Linked DNA regions of Homo sapiens: region 1 is linked to region 2. Evidence: promoter capture Hi-C in human tissues and cell types (Jung and others, 2019). All regions are on one chromosome and are shown on one strand. Each heading gives the region's core, a stretch centred on a gene start or on the middle of the fragment in contact. The rest is flanking DNA. Distances are from core to core; before and after follow the strand shown. Region 1 overlaps DNAH5 (dynein axonemal heavy chain 5). Region 2 holds the start of DNAH5 (dynein axonemal heavy chain 5).

Evidence for each region. Contacts are between HindIII fragments. The study calls those that stand out against the background at their distance.
Region 1: a contact is called between a fragment that was not itself captured here and the fragment with the promoter of DNAH5 in region 2, in 1 of the 25 tissues and cell types used here (H1 embryonic stem cells).

What each region holds. Positions count from the first base shown.
Region 1 is chr5:13,757,207-13,759,954 of GRCh38, forward strand. DNAH5 (dynein axonemal heavy chain 5) reads right to left here. Exons shown (of 79, transcript NM_001369.3): 61 at 1,640-1,777. Among named protein-coding and RNA genes, the nearest start is that of DNAH5-AS1, 100 kb to the right of the region's middle. The HindIII fragment of the contact is 3,083 bases long and covers 1-2,748 here.
Region 2 is chr5:13,943,381-13,946,080 of GRCh38, forward strand. DNAH5 (dynein axonemal heavy chain 5) reads right to left here and starts at 1,308. Exons shown (of 79, transcript NM_001369.3): 1 at 1,002-1,308. The coding sequence starts at 1,058. The HindIII fragment of the contact is 17,200 bases long and covers 1-2,700 here.

The sequences.
Region 1 (2,748 bases), core at 104-2,603, 190 kb before region 2:
TTTGGGTATATATCAAGTAATGGGATTGCTGGGTCAATGGTATTTCTGTTTTTACGTCTTTGAGGAATTGCCACACTATCTACCAGAATGGTTGAACTAACTTACACTCTGACCAGCAGTGTATAAGCATTCTTTTTCTCCGCAATCTCACCAGCATCTGTTGTTTTTTGACTTTTTAATAATAGCCATTCTGACTGGTGTGAGATGGTAACTGATTGTGGTTTTGATGTGCATTTCTCTAGTGATCAGTGATACTGAGCTTGTTTTCATATGATTGTTGGCCGCATGTATGTCTTTTTTTGAAAAGTGTCTGTTGTAAAGAAAGCAAAAACTGACAAATGGGATCTAATTAAAATAAAAAGCTTCTGCACAGTAAAAGAAACTATCCACAGAGTGAAGAGACAACCTCTAGAATGGGAGAAAATTATTGCAAAATATGGATCTGAAAAAATCTTAATATCCAGGATCTATAAGGAACTTAAAGAAATTCACAATTTAAAAAAAATCTCATTAAAAGTGGGCAAAGGACATGAACAGACATTTTTCAAAAGTGCTACTTCTTTAAAGCTTCCAAAAGCATTTACTTTGCTTGTGGAAGACTTATCTTTAAGACATTATATCATACATTCTGCAGATATTGAAACTGAAATGTTTATCTAAACTCTTTTATTGGGACCCCTACAAAACTAACAAGGCAGGAATTTCAATTCGGCCAAGTAAAGGCTGAGAAGGGGTAGAGGTGAATTTCATAAAATTATCAAGGTAAAACAGAGTGAATCTAGCTATTATTTACCAAATATTGGATTTATCAGAGGCAGATACAGATTTTATTAAGCCAAAAGCTTATATACTCTAGAGAGACCACTTTGTAAAAAAAAAAAATCAGTATGTATTTAAAGTAAAAAAAAAAAAGTGACAAGATCCTGGTTACTTAGAAACTCAGGTACTTTTCCTCTGTGATCTCTTTAGGCATTTGACTTGAATGCTCTAAAGTGAGAACAAAGATAGGTAAGGCACTAGGGTGCCTTGGCTCACACCTGTAATCCCAACCTTTGGGAGGCCGAGGCAGGTGTATCACTTGAGCTCAGGAGTTCGAGACCAGCCTGGGCAATATGGTGAAAACTTGTCTCTACAAAAAATTAGCCAGGCATGGTGGTGCATGTCTGTAGTCCCAGCTACTTGGGAGGCTGAGGTGGAATGATCACTTAACCCCAGGAATTCAAGGCTGCAGTGAGCCATGATCATGCCATTGCACTCCAGCCTGGACGACAGAGCAATACTTTGTCTAAATAAATAAATAAATAAATAAACCCACCCTGCCTACCTTGCAAGTTACTTCAAAGATTAAATGAGATAAAAATGGGAGGACATGATTTGAAAAACATAACAAAAATGCTAGTACACAAGATGCTGTCATCACTACCAACACCACTAACAAAGAAACTCAGAATGGCTATGTTCCAGCACTGACAGCCATCTTGACTGACCATCCTGTTGTCTCATCAAAGACCCTTGGTGTCCATTATGTGCTATGTATGTATTATGTATAAATTCAGTGAAACCCCACAAGAACCCAAACTCTTGGAGAGAGAAGCCGTGTAGATATGTGACAGTCCCTGCCATGACAAAGGGCAGTTACCTGCTTTTCAGTCATGGCCTGTTCATACTCAGCCTGCACCACGTCAAGTTCCGCCTGCTTGTCATCCAACTCGGCCTGGGCTTTCTGCAGATCCTGCATGGCCAGGAGATGGCGATTCTCTTGCACCACCAAGTTGGCCTGCACAGGACACACACAGAGTGAAGAGATGGGCAGCCAACCTCAAAACATCCTGCATTTCAGGGTCTGAGAACTCAGCTAACGTCACATGTTTATACCTTTGCTTTGTTCCCGCTCCAGAATCCTTTCAAATCACATTAAGTCCTGAACAAATCTTAATGTGAACTTGACATAAATGTGTATAAGCAGAAAGTTACACTTCATTAGAAAGGAGGTCAGCAAATATTTTCTTTAAAGTGCCAGATAGTAAATATTTTGGGCCAAGAGGCAAAATCAAAATTATTGTTCATGTACTTATTTTAAAACTATTTAAACATGTAAAACCTACTCTTATTTCACAAGCCATCCAAATATAGGTAGTGGGCTAGATTTGGCCCACAGGCCATAGTCTACCTAGATCAGAACACTGTAATATTAAATGTATATAGGTAAATTATAAAACATGCTAATATTGAGAGTTGTAGAAAAAAACAATATTTAGAACTATCTGCCTAGCAGGACTCATCACTGTTGAGGAGTAATAAAGGATGTAAAATGATTATTTACTGAATATAAATATCTACGTTTTGTGTATCGTGGTGGTCTTGACATTGTTCCTGTCACTTTCATATATTTCTTGCCTTCTGGAAAGCGTATTTGATACCTTGAGCTGTGACTAATTAAAAATGTTTATTTTAAAGAAGCTATTAAGATAGAATCAAAAGACTTAACCAAAAGCAATATTAGCAAAAGATGAGATGTAAAAAAGTAGTTCATGCCTAAGAAATTTAGATCCTTTAAAATCATTTTTGAAACCAAATTTTTCCCTTTTAAATTTATAAAGTGTTAATATTGACTTTCATGGGATGACTAGAAGGCATATTCTTTCTGAAGTATTTGAGAAAAGATTATTTTTAAAACACTTTTGAAATAAATTATTTTCCTATCTCAAAACTTCAGGCTTCCAAATTTTGGCAGAATAAATCTTTAGG
Region 2 (2,700 bases), core at 58-2,557:
CATCGAAGGAAAGTGCTGACAGGGTACAGGAAGGAAACTCACACCTCCTCCTCAAAGTGTCAGGGGACGCTTCTCAGAGGAGGTAACACTAGCACTTGGTCTTGAAGAATAAGCAGTGCATGGACTGGCTGGAGTCAGCTCTTCCAGAATGGTCTTCTAACTCTAGCAAGCAAGTTCAGGGGCTTGGCTGCAAGACGTTCACCTTGGGAAGGATGCATCAGAATCTTGTGGCTTGGGCAAGTGAGGGGTGGCAGATGGTGGCATACTTAAAAAATTCAGAGGTAGATGCCTGCTCTTTTGTGGTAAAAACAACAGGCTAGGGGGGATCATGTGAGCTTCTGGGGATACACAAAAAGACACAGTGATCAAGCCCAGTAGGAAGCATGGGTTAATGGTTGAGAACTGAGTCCTAGAGAAACCTCCAATTTCTTCTGACGTTAATTGGCAGTGGAAGAGGTTTCCAAATCCCTCTCTATGCATTTGCATAATAAAAAGCTGCTGAGCTGAGCCCTGTGCTAGGGAAGTTCATTCTTCAATGTGATTTCCAAAGGCACAGCCTTGCATCTCACTGTCTGTGACCTCATTTGCAGGCATATAGAACAGGGGAGTGATTTCAAAGCCTAAACCTTGCAGCCTAGAATCTGCCTTAACTATTTCTAATCACCAACTAAAGTTTACAGGTTTGAAAGAATACAAAGTGCCCAAACCACTATGAATGTGTTTTTGACCCCAGGAAAGCATCTTCCCAAAAGATGCAGCATGAATTTCTAGGTGCGTAGTTTAAGCGGCAACGTGCAGAAAAGCCTACAGATGCAAAATTTTTTTTATTTAAAAAATGAATATGTAGCCTATGCACCAGGTGAACATTAGTTAAAAAATGTGTTTCTCGCAAATTCATCAGTGTGTGACTTTGAACCTTTTTCAAGTTTGTTTTTTCCACCCAGGTGTGACAGATGATAATCCAAAACACACATGCAAAGGTACAGACAACAGCACCTTACCGTTAAAACTCGAGTGACGCTATGCTTCCAGAGCTGTCTCCTCCCAATCCTAAACATTGTAGCCGTGCATGGACAGGCTGGAGTCAGCTCTTCCGGAATGGTCTTCTAACTCCTGGCAGACCTGCTCAACATCCAACAGGCTTCCAAATGGAAAGTTTTACTTCCATTTTACTTTCACGTTTCTAATTTGCATGTATTATTCACTACATTCACAGAATAAAAATTAAAACTCCACTTATACCACTCAAGTTTTTCTCCTAGAGTGTCTGCCCTGGGCCTCTCCTCTCTCTCGAAGCCTGGTGTTGTTAGGGTAATATTGTTTATACACTATACAGTTGAACCATGCCTCTTAATCATGTTTATCAAGCAATCAAAGCATTTTAACTGCTCGGTAGCAACACAACTCCTTCTGTTGTTCAATTAATTCTATTCACTGCCCAATAATAAGCATTGAGTCAACAGTGATATCTAAATAGTTTCTTTGAACAATGAGAAACTTTAAACCATATCAGATTAGAAATCCAAGAAGCCACAGCTCTGAATATATTGTCCATGTCGAGAAACTCAGTCTTACTTTGTGTAAACAACTTTGCAAGCACGATGCACTGCCAGCATTGTGACTAATTGTGACTAATTGCCAGATAGGCTAATTGTGACCCATAGGAGCCATTTTCTCCACCACAAAGAACAAGAAGTCTGTTTCATATGCAAATAGCAAACCATGTCCATAAATTACTTGTGCTCACACAGTTGCACATACACTTCAGCCAAGGTAATTTATCCTATGTGGCTAAACATCTTGATCATCTTAACTGTGAAGATGTAATGGGAAAACACTGCCAAATGCTTTGAGAGATCTCTCATGTATGGTTTCTCCCATCGAGTTGAATAAAAGGCAGGACACTTAAGGTTGGTCTTGTTGAATCTAGAATTTAGTCCTTGGAATTCACAGTCCAGCAACTCAAATCCTAAAAGGTCATCCAAGGATAATCAGGAAATTGGGAACTCATCCTGGTAACATCCTGCTAGTCAACCTCTGTGGAGCCTGACTTGGAAGGCAGGGTGCTGACATGGTTTCAGAACATGGAGATTCACTTGGTCCATATCCAATGCTAGGGCACGGACGGCCTCCATATGTCAGGTTAACAGACAACATTTAGACCTCAATATTATTTGGTAAGTAAATAACTAGAACACAGGAAGTTTAAGTTTGTTTGCAGGATTTTTTTTTTCTTTTTTGAGACCTGCAGGTCTCACTCTGTCACACAGGCTGGAGTGCAGTTGCGTGACCACCACTCACCACAGCCTCAACCTCCCAGGCTCAGGTGATCCTCCCACCTCAGCCTTCCTAGTAACTGGGACTACAGGCAAGTGTCACAACACGCGGCTAATTTTTGTATTTTTTGTAGAAACAGGTTTGGCCACATTGCCCAGGCTGGTCTCAAACTCCTGGCCTCAAGCAATTGCCCACCTCGGCCTCCCAAAGTGCTGGGATTATACGCATGAGCCACCAGGCCAGGCCCTGCAGGATATTTGTTGAAGTCAACCTCTGGTTGTTGGTAAGCGGCTGTTGTCCGTTTCTAATAAAAAGTGTTGAAGACAGTATCTAGACTCTGAGTCCCTTCTCTGTGTGGTGCTGAAGACACCAGAAAATAGCAGTAGGATCGGATCCTCCTCACATGGCATCTCCTATCCATCC